2 separate regions of the Homo sapiens genome follow, and region 1 is linked to region 2. Evidence: promoter capture Hi-C in human tissues and cell types (Jung and others, 2019). All regions are on one chromosome and are shown on one strand. Each heading gives the region's core, a stretch centred on a gene start or on the middle of the fragment in contact. The rest is flanking DNA. Distances are from core to core; before and after follow the strand shown. Region 1 holds the start of TNFAIP8L1 (TNF alpha induced protein 8 like 1). Region 2 holds the start of STAP2 (signal transducing adaptor family member 2).

The links. The method cuts DNA at HindIII sites, captures the fragments that hold promoters and counts their contacts. A contact is called where the count stands out against the background at its distance.
Region 1: the fragment with the promoter of TNFAIP8L1 here is called in contact with the fragment with the promoter of STAP2 in region 2 in 1 of the 25 tissues and cell types used here (spleen).

What each region holds. Positions count from the first base shown.
Region 1 is chr19:4,637,910-4,645,316 of GRCh38, reverse strand. It overlaps TNFAIP8L1 (TNF alpha induced protein 8 like 1), which reads right to left and starts at 5,801. Exons shown (of 2, transcript NM_152362.3): 1 at 5,688-5,801. RefSeq lists an enhancer at 4,801-5,800 and silencers at 5,701-6,140, 6,201-6,280. The HindIII fragment of the contact is 40,660 bases long and covers 379-7,407 here.
Region 2 is chr19:4,335,307-4,341,804 of GRCh38, reverse strand. STAP2 (signal transducing adaptor family member 2) reads left to right here and starts at 2,978. Exons shown (of 13, transcript NM_001013841.2): 1 at 2,978-3,153. The coding sequence starts at 3,052. The HindIII fragment of the contact is 19,957 bases long and covers 1-6,498 here.

The DNA.
Region 1 (7,407 bases), core at 4,552-7,051, 300 kb before region 2:
CTCGGCCTCCCAAACTGCTGGGATTACAGGTGGGAGCCACCACGCCCAGCCTTAACTATAAGTTTATATTCTCCCACGTTAAATAATGGCTGCGTTTAACTACCAGATGGCAAAATTCCTGAAAACACAGGAGGTGGCTCTGGTGAGCTGGCTGCAATTATGTCACAAGTCCCTGCCGTCCCCACCCCTGTCCCATGAATTCTTCATGCACCTCACAGAGTGTCAATAATTGATGGATCTGCTCTGCAGGTGCACGCCAGCCGCTCCATCTGTCTTGTCTCAGCCCCGGCTGCACTCAGTCCGGGGGCCCAGGGGGGGCCTCAGGCCTCTTCCCGCCGAGGCCAGTGATCCCAGGCCTCATCCCACCGACTCCCAGGGTCCCACTGCACCAAGCCCTTTAAGACCCATGACTCACAGGCTGGGCGTGGTGGCTCATGCCTGTAATCCCAGCACTTTGGGAGGTCGAGGCGGGCAGATCACCTTAGGTCGGGAGTCCAAGACCAGCCTGGCCAACATGGTGAAACCCCATCTCTACTAAAAATACAAAAATTAGCCGTGTGTGGCACACGCCTGTAATCCCAGCTACTCGGGAGGCTGCGTCACGAGACTCGCATGAACCTGGGGGGCAGAGGTTGCAGTGAGCTCCACTTCATTCCAGCCTGAGAAACAGAGTGAGACTCTATCTCAAAAAAAAAAAAAAAAAAAAAAAAATCCATGACTCAGGACTTGCAAGCCGGTGTCCATTTTATTTTTATTTATTCATTTTTTTTTTAAGACAAGGTCTTACTCTGTTGCCCAGGCTGGAGTGCAGTGGTACCATTATAGCTCACTATAGCCTCGACCTCCTGGGCTCAAGTGATCCTCCCACCTCAGCCTCCTGAGTAGCTGGGACTACAGGTATGTGCCACCATGCCTGGTTAATTTTTTTTTTTTTTTTTTGGTAGACATGGCGTCTTGCTATGTTGCCCAGGCTAGTCTCGAACTCCTGGGCTCAAGTGATCCTCCCGCCTTGACCTCCCAAAGTGCTGGGATTGCAGGCGTGAGCTGCCACACTTGGCCAGTGTCCATTTTATTTTATTTTTATTTTATTTTTTTGAGACGGAGTTTCACTCTTGTTGCCCAGGCTGGAGTGCAATGGCATGATCTCAGCTCACTGCAACCTCTGCCTCCTGGGTTCAAGTGATTCTCCTGCCTCAGCCTCCCAAGTAGCTGGGATTACAGGCATGCGCCACCACGCCCGGTTAATTTTGTATTTTTAGTAGAGACGGGGTTTTCTCCATGTTGGTCAGGCTGGTCTCGAATTCCTGACCTCAGGTGATCCACCCGCCTCGGCCACCCAAAGTGCTGGGATTACAGGCATAAGCCACCGTGAACGGCCAATTTTATTATTTATTTATTTTTTGAGATGGAGTCTCGCTCTGTTGCGCGATCTCAGCCCACTGCAACCTCCACCTCTCCAGTTCAAGCAATTCTCCTGCCTCAGCCTCCCAAATAGCTGGGATTACAGGCACCTGCCACCATGCCTGGCTAAGTTTTGTATTTTTAGTAGAGATGGGGTTTTGCCATGTTGGCCAGGCTGGTCTCCTCCTGGGCTCAAGCGATCCTCCTGCTTCGGCCTCCCAGAATGCTAGGATTACAGGCATGAGCCGCCATACTTCGCCAGTGTCCATTTTAGTTATGGCAAAAGAGAGAGGGGAATCTGTTGGCCCAAGTTGGGGGTGACATCAGTTGTTCTCAAACTGGGTTCCCCAGCACCCTCAGGACCACCCCATGGATGGGCAGGGGCCAGCTGCCTGCTGGGTTGTGGCGGGGAGCCTGGACACTTTCCACTGTGGCCAGATTTCCACTGGAGAAAGGGTTCGAGGGCCAAACATGAATTATCAGCTACCCACAGCCCATGACTCTGCAGAGGAGGGGACAGGCTTGCCTCAGCCCAAGCAATAAATTATTAGAGTGCAGAGAAGCCTAGGATCACCTGGCAGGAGGTGCATCCAGCCCCTAAATGTGTCCCAATGCAACCCACTTTTTTTTTTTTTTTGAGACAGAGTCTCACTCTGTTGCCCAGGCTGGAGTGCAGCGGCGTGATCTCGGCTCACTGCAACCTCCGCCTCCTGGGTTCAGGTGATTCTCCTGCCTCAGCTTCCTGAGTAGCTGGTATTACAGACACGTGCCACCATGCCTGGGTAATTTTTGTATTTTTAGTAGAGATGGGGTTTCACCATGTTGGTCAGGCTGGTCTCCAACTCCTGACCTCAGGTGATCCACTTGCCTCAGCCTCCCAAAGTGCTGGGATTACATGAGCCACCCTGCCTGGCCTAACGCAACCCACTTCTTATCTCCCCCACAGCCTCCATCCTGGTCCCCTCGTCCCTCAGCACCATCTATCCCCATGCCCCCCGTCTGTCCTCCCTGTAGCAGCCAATGGGTGCCTGTGAGTACCTGAGTCAGGTTCCATCCTTCCCCTGCCCACCACCCTCCATGGCTCCCACCTCCCTTGGGGTCAAAGCCAAGTATTCCTGGCAGCCCATAAGATCCTGCGCACCCTGCCCTGTCCCCTCCCTGCCCTCCCCTCCTCCCTCTCTCCTCCTCCTCACTGCTCCAGCCCCACGGGCCTCCTTGCTGCTCCTCTACCATGCCAGGCGCCATCTTGCCCCAGGGCCTTTACACAACCTGTGCCCTCTGCCTGAGCTGCTCTTCTCCCAGGTCTCCACATGGCTGTTTCCTTCTTGTCATCCAGGTCTGGGTTTACATGGCCCCTCCTCAGGAAGCCCTCCCAGATCCCCCATCTATTTTATTTATTTTATGTGTATATTTTTAATTTTTTTTTTTTTTTTGAGATGGAGTCTCACACTCTGTCAACCCAGGCTGGAGAGCAGTGGTGCAATCTCGGCTCACTGCAACCTCTGCCTCTTGGGTTTAAGTGTTTCTCCTGCCTCAGCCTCCTGAGTAGCTGGATTACAGGCACCCACCACCACGCCCGCCTCATTTTTGTATTTTTAGTAGAGACAGGGTTTTGCCCTCTTGGCCAGGCTGGTCTCGAATTCCTGACCTCAGGTGATCCGGCCACCTCAGCCTCCCAAAGTGCTGGGATTACAGGCGTGAGCCACGGCGCCCAGCCAATTCTCTTCTTTTTCTTTGAGACAGGGTTTCACTCCTGTCGCCCAGGCTGAAGTGCAGTGGCATGAGCTCGGCTCACTGCAGCCTCAACCTCCCTGGGCTCAGGTGATCCTCCCACCTCAGCCTCCAGAGTGGCTGGGACTACAGGCCTGCGACACCACACCTGGCTAATTTTTTTTTCTTTGTTTTAAGTAGAGACAGGGTTTCACCATGTTGCCCAGGCTGGGAAATTCTCTAGATGGACCTGCAAGTTTTTGGTTATAAGGAAACTGAGTCACAGAGGGTCAGGAGCTTGCCTGTTTATAAAGCAGTGATGTGGCAGAATCAGAATTTGAACCCAGCCTTTAACCTAGTGCAATCCTTTCCTCATCCTAGTCAATGGCACATTTGGGGTTCAAGTCTCGTCTCTCCCAGAGCCCACCCCAGAGGGGAAGGATCGAAGCCTTAGGAAGCTTCTAGAAGTACTGTGTCCTGTAATCCCCTCCTCGGGCTTTTAACAATATCTTGTTGAATCTCCCCCACCCCTCAAAGCACCCTCCCTCCCCACAGTTATCTCAGCCCCACAAGAAAAAGGAGATGACCAGCCCCATTGGACAGATGGGGAAACTGAGGCCTAGAAGCTGGGGATTTACAAGATCCCAAGAACTCTGCCAGAGGTCCCTGCGTCAAAGCTCGAGCGGGTGTGATTCCAGGGAGGTCATCTGCTGAGGGGTGTCGGGAGATGCTGGGAAGGGGCAGGCATGCTGTGGAACTGGGCCGTTCCTGCCTCTCGCTCTGCCTCCTTGCCCTGCTCCCCGTCTGTAACACCTGAGCTGTACCTGGGCAAGTGTGAGTCATTTTTTAGCGTTGACGTCTCTCTGGGAGGAGTGTTCCCCTGTCAACGGCTGGAGTTTTGTCCTCAAGGCACCCTTTCGTGGCCCCATTGGACAGACAGGGACACTGAGGCCTCCGGAACCCACCATACTGAATTGTCAAGCAATCAAAAGACCCCTCACCCACCTGGGCTGACCCCTGGGGGAACGGGGATGAGGAAACTGAGGCTCTGGGGGCACCTGACCGTCGGTCCAAGGCCACACAGTGGGAGGGGCCGTACCGCGGGGCCTCAGACCTGCACCCGTCTGCAGAGCCACCCCACCATTGGAGCAGGGTTCAAGTCCCCCCCCCGGCCCCATATTCCCTGCAGGGGTCCAGGCACTCACCCACCACCTGTATCCCAGGCTGCTCCAGCCTCTGGCCAGTGCCCGATTCACCCAGGTGTTTGTGTGGCTGGAGACAGCCCTTTGTTCACGGTTTCCATAGGTACAGCGTCCCTGAGCGGCCCCTCCTCTGCCCCTCCCAGCCCTTGCCTGTGCAGGTCCTGGGTCCGGCCCATCCAGGGAGCTTGTTATGTTTCAAAGTTGGCGCCCTCGGACCTGCCGTAGTGGCAGAGGGCACAGCCCATGCAAAGGCCCTGAGAGAGGACCTCGCCTGGGGTGTTGGAGAAACAGGAGGAGGCCAGTGTGACTGGGGCAGAGCCACAGCGAGAGTCAGGCAGGTTATGAGCAGGGCCTGTATTCCTGCATCTGATCCCCCAGCAGCCCTCAACTTGGGGAGTTACGACCCACTCCTGTTTTACAGATGAGGAAACTGAGGCTCCGCAGAATTGAAAAACTGGTTCAAGATATCATGCGGGTGGCAGAGCTCAAACCTAGATTGGTCCAAGCTCCGCCACCACTGGGCTGGCCCCCCTGGGGCCTCCCAAGGCGTTCATCGCCTCCAGCTGAGCTGGGACTGGCTCAGGAAATAAACTCTGGCGGCCTGTTTACACCTGGGGCTGCTCCTCCACCAGCCCTTCCCCCCTCCATAGAGAAGGTGCTGGGAAATGTGAGGATGCAGAGAAAACAGATTCTGTCCTGCCTCTGTCCCCACTTCCCTGGACAAACATTGGAAGCATTGGCCTCTTTCTAGGCCTTAGTTTCCCATCCCAGGAAATGGGCCTAGTTCGACTTCACAGAAAAGGCCAGGAGGCGGCAGGTGTCCTTCAGATCACCTGCCAATTACCTTAGCAGCGACGGTCCCAGTTCACAGCTGGCAAAACTGAGGCCAAGTCCCCACAGGCCACTTGGGAGCTCATTAGGGGCCAGTCTGGGTGGGCCCGGGCTGGCCTAGGCCTGGCTCCCCGCCACCGATGCCTGGACCGATGCCTGGTTTAGCTAGAAGCTACAGTCATGCCCACCTCCGCACGGCTGGCCCAGCTGCCCACCGCCTGGAATGCCCTCAGGGTTCTGGAATCTGGCCTGAGCACCTGCGGCCCTACAGTTAAAGGGGGCAGAGTCCACTAGAGTCCACATGGGGGATGGGGGTGCTGGTCCCAGAGCAGAGCCCCACGCCAAGGGGGGCAATTGAGACTCAATCTGTCTCCCCCTAACCTATACAGCGAGAGTGACAGAGAGACAGACGGAAACTGAGGCAGGAATGTAGACGGACAGGCGGTGGGGTGCAGAAGCATTAAGGGGCGGGAGAGACAGAGGGCGGCCAGGTGGCCCCCGAGATGCGCTGAAATGGGGGGCGCCCCGGCACTGCTCGCTCACCTACTCTCGAAGCAGAGTCCGTACGTCCAACCGTCGGGGGTCCGTCCAGCCGCCTCCGTGGGCCGGGGCCGTTGCCGCGGCGGTGGGAGCAGCGCCGGAGCCGGGGCCGGGGCCGGGGCGGGGCGGGCAGCGCGGCCCCGCCCTCCACTCGCCTCGCCCCTCGGCAGGCCACGCCCTCCACTCGCCCCGCCCGCGCGGAAGGGACCGGAGAGTTGCCAGGCCTGGGGGGCGGGCCGAGCGCTCCGGATTAGCCAATGACAGGGCGGGCAATGTACGAAAAGGCCAATGGGAGCAGGGCACTGCGACGGGGGGGAAGTGGGGGGAAGGGGCGGAGCCTGGGGGCGGGGTCAGGCGGCTCTGGGGGATTCCTCCGGAATCGCGAAGGGGCCCGGATGCGGGGGCGAGGCCGTCGTGGGGGTGCCGGCCACAGAAAAGGGAAGAGATAAGAGTACGAGACAGACAGAGAACCTGGGGAGGGAGGCACAGAGACACCAACAGGAAGAGACCAGAGAGCCAAAAGGCAAAACAGACCAACCACGTGGTTCTGCACGGGCCCCTTCCTCCTTCTGGGGCTAGTTTACCCGCCTGGGTAATAGGAATTTCGGCAGAAGCGTGTTTCTCAAAGTACGGCCTCGGGGAACCCTTCGCGTCAGAAAGATCTGAGAGTCCATTTTAAAATGCAGATTCCAACTAGGTGTGGTGCCTCACGCCTGGAATCCCAGCACTTTGGGAGGCCAAGGCAGGAGGATCCCTTGAGCCCAGGAGTTTGAAACCAGCCTGGGCAACCTAGGGAGACCCTGTCTCTACAAAAAAAAAAAAAAAAAGAAAGAAAGAAAAAGAAGAAGATCAAAATAAGTTAAAATTTTAAAAATACAGAGTTCTGTGCCACAAGAAGGGATGAATCTAACCCAGGGTTGTGGGGCTATAGATGAATCTTTGGGGTGAGGTGGAGGGCTCCTGGAGACCTCATCAGAGGATCCCCAGGTCCAGCCTCGATTTCCGTAGGAATGAGCCTGCAGGACACACAGGAGCCTCCCGGCTGCGCAGCGCCAGCTGGGGTCCCCCGGGGAGGATGCAGCTGTGAGTCCTGGGAACCAGGCCCTGGAGCTGCTCCCAGGTCCCCTGCAGCACCATTTCCGCCCTGCAGCCCAACTCTGGGTCCCGGTTGCAGCTAGGGCCTAGGGAGCCCATAGCAACCTCGCTGCTTCTTCCTCCAGGAAGCCAGACAACAAATTGTTGAGGGCCTGTTGTGTGTCCTGACCTGCACACGGGATTCAGGAAGACCGAGGCACAGGCCTCAGGAGGCAAAAGTAAGTTAAATATCTCATTGGCTGGGCCCGGTGGCTCACCCCTGTAATCCCAGCACTTTGGGAGGCCGAGGTGGGCGGATCACCTGAGGTCAGGAGTTTGAGACCAGCCTGGACAACATCGTGGAACCCCGTCTCTACTAAAAATACAAAAATTAGCCGGGTGTGGTGGCACATGCCTGTAATCCCAGCTACTCAGGAGGCTGAGGCAGGGGAATCGCTTGAACTCTGGAGGCAGAGGTTGCAGTGAGCCAAGATCGGGCCACTGCACTCCAGCCGGGGCGACAGAGCAAAATTCCATCTCAAAAAATAAAACATACAAAAAAAAAAAATTAGCTGGTCGTGGTGGTGCACGCCTGTAGTCCCAGCTACTCGGGAGGCTGAGGTGCTAGAATTGCTTGAACCCCAGAGGC
Region 2 (6,498 bases), core at 1,729-4,228:
TGATCCACCTGCCTCAGCCTCCCAAAGTGCTGGGATTACAGGTGTGAGCCACTGCGCCCAGCCTATTTTCTTTTCTTTTCGAGACAGGGCCTTGCTCTATCTCCCAGGCTGGAGTGCATTGGTGTAATCATGGCTCACTGCAGCCTTGGCCTCCTGGACTCAAATGATCCTCTTGCCTCAGCCTCCAGAGTAGCTGAGACAACAGGCGTGACCAGCATGCCTGGCTAATTTTTAATTTTCTTGTAAAAGAAGGGGATCTCACTATGTTGCCCATGCTGGTCTCCAAGTCCTGGCCTTAAGCAATCTTCCCACTTGGGCTCCCAAAGTGTTTGGATTACAGGCGTGAGCCACCGCACCCTGCCCTCCTCTCATGCTGTAAATCCTTCTGTCGCTCCACATTGCCTTAGACAAATACAATAAAAACTAACCACCCTGGCTGGGCACAGTGGCTCACGCCTGTAATCCCAGCACTTTGGGATCACTTGAGGTCAGAAGCTGAAGACCAGCCTGACCAACATGGTGAAACCCCATCTCTAATAAAAACAAAAAAATTAGCCGGGGGTGGTGGCAGGCACCTGTAATCCCAGCTACTCCAGAGGCTGAGGCAGGAAAATCGCTTGAACCCGGGAGGCGGAGGTTGCAGTGAGCCGAAATCATGCCACTGCACTCCAGCCTGGGCAAAAGGAGCAAAACCCTGTCTGAAAAAACAAACAAACAAAAAAACGAAACAAAAATCAACTCTCTGACCTTACTTAGTATAGCTGATACTATCAACTTTATCAGACAGTTCAGTGGATGAACACATTGCCACAGTCCCACGGCCTTTCTGTGATTTCTAGAACACCTGTTCTGCTATGTATACAAAGTCTAGCCCTGGTAACTACTAAGGAAATTGAATTTGTAATTTAAAAACTCCCAAAAAAGCAATCTCCAGACCCAGATGGTTTCACTAAGGAATTCTGCCAAAGGTTCAAAGAAGAATTAACACCAATTTCACATCATCTCTTCCAGAAAATTGAAGGGGACACTTCCCTGTTCATTTTATGGAACTATGACCCTGATACCAAAACCAGATAAAGACGGTACAAAGAAAGCAAGCTACACCCCATATCCCTCATGAAGACGTGCAAAAATCCTTAACAAAATATTACAAAGTAGAATTTAACAATATATAAAGTGAATTATACACCATGACAAGTGGGGTTTACTCCAGGGACCCAAGACTGATTCAGTATTCAAAATTAATCAATTGTCCACCATATTAAACAGGCTGTGGTAGGCAGAATAATGGTCTCTTAAAGATATCCACGCCCTAATTCCCAGAATCTGTGAATACGTTAGGATACGTGGCAAAGGGATTTGAAGATTAAAGATAGACGCCAGGCACAGTGGCACACACCTGTAACCCCAGCACTTTGGGAGGCCTAGACTGGAGGATCACTTGCACCCAGGAGTTCAAGACTAGCCTGAGGGCCGGGCACGGTGGCTTATGCCTGTAATCCCAGCACTTTGGGAGGTCGAGGCAGGTGGATCACAAGGTCAGGAGATTAAGACCATCCTGGCTAACACAGTGAAACTCCATCTCTACTAAAATAAAAATACAAACAAATTAGCTGGGCATGGTGGCACGTGCCTATAATCCCAGCTACTCGGGAGGCTGAGGCAGGAGAATTGCTTGAACCTGGGAGGCAGAGGTTGCAGTAAGCCGAGATCGCTCCACTGCACTCCAGCCTGGGTGACAGAGTAAGACTCTGTCTCAAAAAAAAAAAAAAAAAAAGACCAGCCTGGGCAACATAGCAAGAACCTGTCTCTAGTAAGTGTAAAAATTAGCTGGGCGTGGTGGCAGGCACCTGTAATCCCAGCTACTTGGGAGGCTGAGCCAGGCGAATGGCATGAACCTGGGAGGCGGAGCTTGCAGTGAGCCGAGATCACGCCACTGCACTCCAGCCTGGGCTACAGAGCGAGAGTCTGTCTCAAAAAAAAGAAAAAAAAAAATTAGCCAGGTGTGGTGGCATGCAACTGTAGTACCACCTACTCTGGAGGCTGAGGCTGGAGGATCACTTGAGCCTGTAAGGTCGAGGCTACAGTGAGTCATGATCGCCCCACTGTACTCCAGCCTAGGCAACATAGTGAGAACTCATCCTTAAAAAAGGAAAATAAATTAGCTGGGTGTGGTGGTGCCCACCTATAGTCCCAGCTCTTCGGGTGGCTGAGGCAGGAGGACCGCTTGAGATTGGGAGGTCAGGGCTGCAGTGAACTATGATCGTGCCACTGCACTCCAGCATCGACAACAGAATGAGACACCGTCTAAAAAAGAAAAATTGCAGATGAAATTAAAGTTGCTAGTCAGCTGACTTTAAAATAGGGAGAGTAGCGTGGATTATCCAGGTGGGCCCAATGTAATCATTAGGGTCCATCAAAGTAAGAGAAAGGGCCAGGTGTGGTGGCTCATGCCTGTAATCTCAGCACTTTGGGAGGCTGAGGCGGGCAGAAAACTTGGGGTCAGGAGTTCGAGACCAGCCTGGGCCAACATGGGGAAACCTCGTCTCTACTACAAATACAAAAATTAGCCAGGCGTGGTGGCGGTCACCTGCAATCCACGCTAGTCAGGAGACTGAGCTTGGACTCAGTCTCTGAACCCGGGAGGCAGCGCAGTCTCTTGAACCCGGGAGGCAGAGGTCGCAGTGAGCCAAGATCATACCACTTTACTCCAGCCTGGGCAACAGAGTGAAACTCTGTCTCAAAATAGGAAAAATAGATAAATAAATAAATAAAGAGACAGACCATGTCTCTGTCTTTGCAGATATAGCGAAGATTATTCTCCCATTCAAGTAGACTTATACATTCTCTCTGTTCTCAGTTCCACACCGGAGAGGCGGGGATTTCCCTAGGATCACTGGACCTGCTGGGATCAGCCTCTGCCCAGCCCTGGCAGGGGAGGGAGTTGACGGGCTGACACAGGAAACTCCCCTGAAACCTGTTTCTCAGCTTCCCGGCCCAGCTGGGGCACCCACTGGAAGGAGAGGCCAGGCGGAAGACCCTGGCTCCGTCATGGCCTCTGCCCTGAGGCCACCCCGTGTCCCCAAGCCTAAGGGTGTCCTGCCTTCACACTACTATGAGAGCTTTCTAGAGAAGAAGGGGCCCTGTGACCGGGTAAGGTGGGGAGGCGGGGGCTGGCCCTGCTGGGCCACCGTGGGGAGCTGCGGCACCTCTCTGAGTCCCTGTCTCCCCACTCGCCAAGGGGGGGCGGGGTGGGTGCTGGATGGGGCAGGACACGTGCTGGGGGACTGGGGTGGGTTCTGGCCATCTGCCTCTCTGTGCGTCTATCTCTGTCTCCGTGTGTCTTTGAATTTGGTTTCTTTTTCTCTTTCTCTCTCCCTGGCCCCGTCTGTCTCTCCCGATGTCTGTCTCAGTCTCCCTCTCTCTTTGTCTCAATCTTTGCTTTTGTCTCTCGTTCACTCTCTTGAATACAAACAAGATCAGGGACTTCCTCCAGGAAATGGGGAGTCCTCTGACTCCCGAGCTTCCTCCCGCTCCCAGCCCAGGAAAAACTCCGTGAACCTCAGCTGCTGGGGCGAAGGCCAGGACAGGTGACATGTGAGGACAGTAAGAGCTAGCGGGGGCCACATTCCACAGGACAGATAGTTGCCATGGACAGTGCGTGCATGTGTGTGTGTGTGTGTGCTTATGTCTCCCTCAGAATAAAGTCCCAGCCCCTCCGTTCCCCGTGAGGCCCTATCTCTCCTTCCCAATGCCGCATATTCATTTTCTTTCTTTCTTTTTGTTAGAGACAGAGTTGCTCTGTCACCCAGGCTAGAGTGCAGGGGCACGATCATGGCTCACTGTAGCCTCAAACTCCTGGGCTCAAGTGAACCTCCCGCCCCAGCCTCCTGAGTAGCTGGGACCACAGGCATGCACTGCCTCTTCTGGCTTTTATTTTATTTATTTATTTTTGAGACTGAGTCTCACTCTGTCACCCAGGCTGCAGTGCAGTGGCACCATCTCGGCTCACTGCAACCTCCACCTCCCAGGTTCAAACGATTAAGCGATTCTCGTGCCTCAGCCTCCCGAGTAGCTGGGATTACAGGTACGCACCACCACACCTAATTTTTGTATTTTTAGTAAAGACAGTGTTTCATTTTGTTGGCCCGGCTGGTCTTGAACTCTTGACCTCAGGTGATCCACCTGTCTCGGCCTCTCTAAATGCTGGGATTACAGGCATGAGCCACCGCACCCAGCCTTTTTTTTTTTTTTTTGAAGATGGGGTCTTGCTGGCCAGGCGCAGTGGGTCACACCTGTAATCCCAGCACTTAGGGAGGCTGAGGCAGGTGGATCACCTGAAGTCAGGAGTTTGAGACCAGCCTGGCCAATATGGTGAAACCCCGTCTCTACTAAAAATACAAAGATTAGCCGGGCGTGGTGGTGCGTGCCTGTGATCCCAGCTACTCTGGAGGCTGAGGCAGGAGAATCACTTGAACCTGGGAGGCAGAGGTTGCAGTGAGCCAAGATCGTGCCACTGCACTCCAGCCTGGGCAACAGAGCAAGACTCCGTCTCAAAAAAAAAAAAAAGATGGGGTCTTGCTATGTTGCCCAGGCTGGTCTCAAACTCCTGGCCTTAAGTGATCCTCCTGTCTCAGCCTCCCAAACTGCTGGGATTAGAGGTGTGAGCCACCATGACTGCCTCATTTTCTAATACAGATCAAAACAAACACCCCCAGCTCCTCCCTGCCCATGTCCCCGCCTCTGCCCCTGAGGTTCCCTTACCTGTAGTGGAGTAGACTTTCCTTCTACCTCCATACATCCAAATCCTCCCCAACCAACAAACCCTTTAGAGCCAGTAGATCACTGCAGTTAAGAAAGATAATGGGGGAGGCCGGGCTTGTGGCTCACGCCTGTAATCCCAGCACTTTGGGAGGCCGAGGCAGGCGGATCACCTGAGGTCAGGAGTTCAAGACCAACCTGGCCAATATGGTGAAACCTCGTCTCTACTAAAAAATACAAAAATTAGCTGGGTATGGTGCCAGGCGCCTTAATCCCAGCTACTTGGGAGGCAGAGGCAGGAGAATCATTTGAGCCTGAGAGGCGAAGTTTGCAGTGAGTCAAGATCAAGCCATTGCACTCAAACCTGGGGGACAAGAGCGAGACTGCTCTCAAAAACAAAAAGAAAAAAAAAAGAAAAGAAAGATAATGGGGGCCGGGCGTGGTGGCTCACGCCTGTAACCCAACACTTTGGGAGGCCGAGGTGGGAGGATCACTTGAGGTCAGGAGTTCAAGACCAGCCTGGCCACATGATGAAACCCCATCTCTACTAAAAATAAAAATAGCTGGGCGTGGTGGTGTGCACCTGTAATCCCAGCTACTCGGGAGGCTGAGGCAGGAGAATTGCTTGAACTGGGGCGGGGGGGTTGCAGTGAGCTGAGATGGTGCCACCGCATTTCAGCCTAGGTGACAGAGTGAGACTCTGTCTCAAAAAAAAAAAAAAAAAAAAAAGGCAGTGTGCAGTGGCTCACGCCTGTAATCCCAACACTTTGGGAGGGCGAGGCCGGCGGATCACTTGAGGTCAGGAGTTCGAGAACACCCTGGCCAACATATAGTGAAACCCCACCTCTACTAAAAAATACAAAAATTAGCTGGATGTGGTGGTGCGCACTTGTAATCCCAGCTACTTGAGAAGCTGAGGCAGGAGAATGGCTCGAACTGGGAGGTGGAGGTTGCAGTGAGCCGAGATCGCACCACTGCACTCCAGCCTGGGCGACAGAGCAAGACTCTGTCTCTTAAAAACAAAACAAAACAAAACAAAAAAGATCATGGGCCCGAATTAAGAAGACCCAGGTTCTAATCCCGGCTCCACACTTTCCTTACTCCCAGGCCTTATGCAAGTGACTTAATCTTTGAGCCTTAGTTTTCTGTCTTCTGAAATAGGGAGTTAGGGCTGTAGTCACAGTTCACGTGTTGAGGACTTGACTCAACGCAGGCCCTGGTGCTTCCCATGTGGAAAGTCACCTAATTCTCATGAGATCCTCCAGAGTTGGCACCATTATTATCACCATTTTACAGCTGGGGAAACAGACAAAGACAGCTCAAATAACTTGCCCAACAGCACATCGTGGGTACATAATGAAGCAATACAGTGTTTAATCCTGTATTGCTCTAGTCCCAGTGCCTGGAGCAGGGCTGGCACATAAAAAGCCTTCAGTAAATGTTAGGTAAATGCATGTGTGTATCTGTGCTTGTGTCTACGGATGGACAGGTGGATGGGTAGATGGGGGGATGAGTGGAGGCTTGGTGAATACATGCGGGCTTGATGGTGGCTGAGAGGATGTGTGGGTGGATGGATGAGTGCATATACAAGTGGGTGGATGGATGGATGGGGGAGTGGATGGATGGATGAGTGGGCAGACGGGTGGGTGGGTGGATGATGGATGGATGAACAAGTGCATGGATGAATGATAGATGGATGAATAGGTGGATGCACGATGGAGGGATGTATGGATGGAT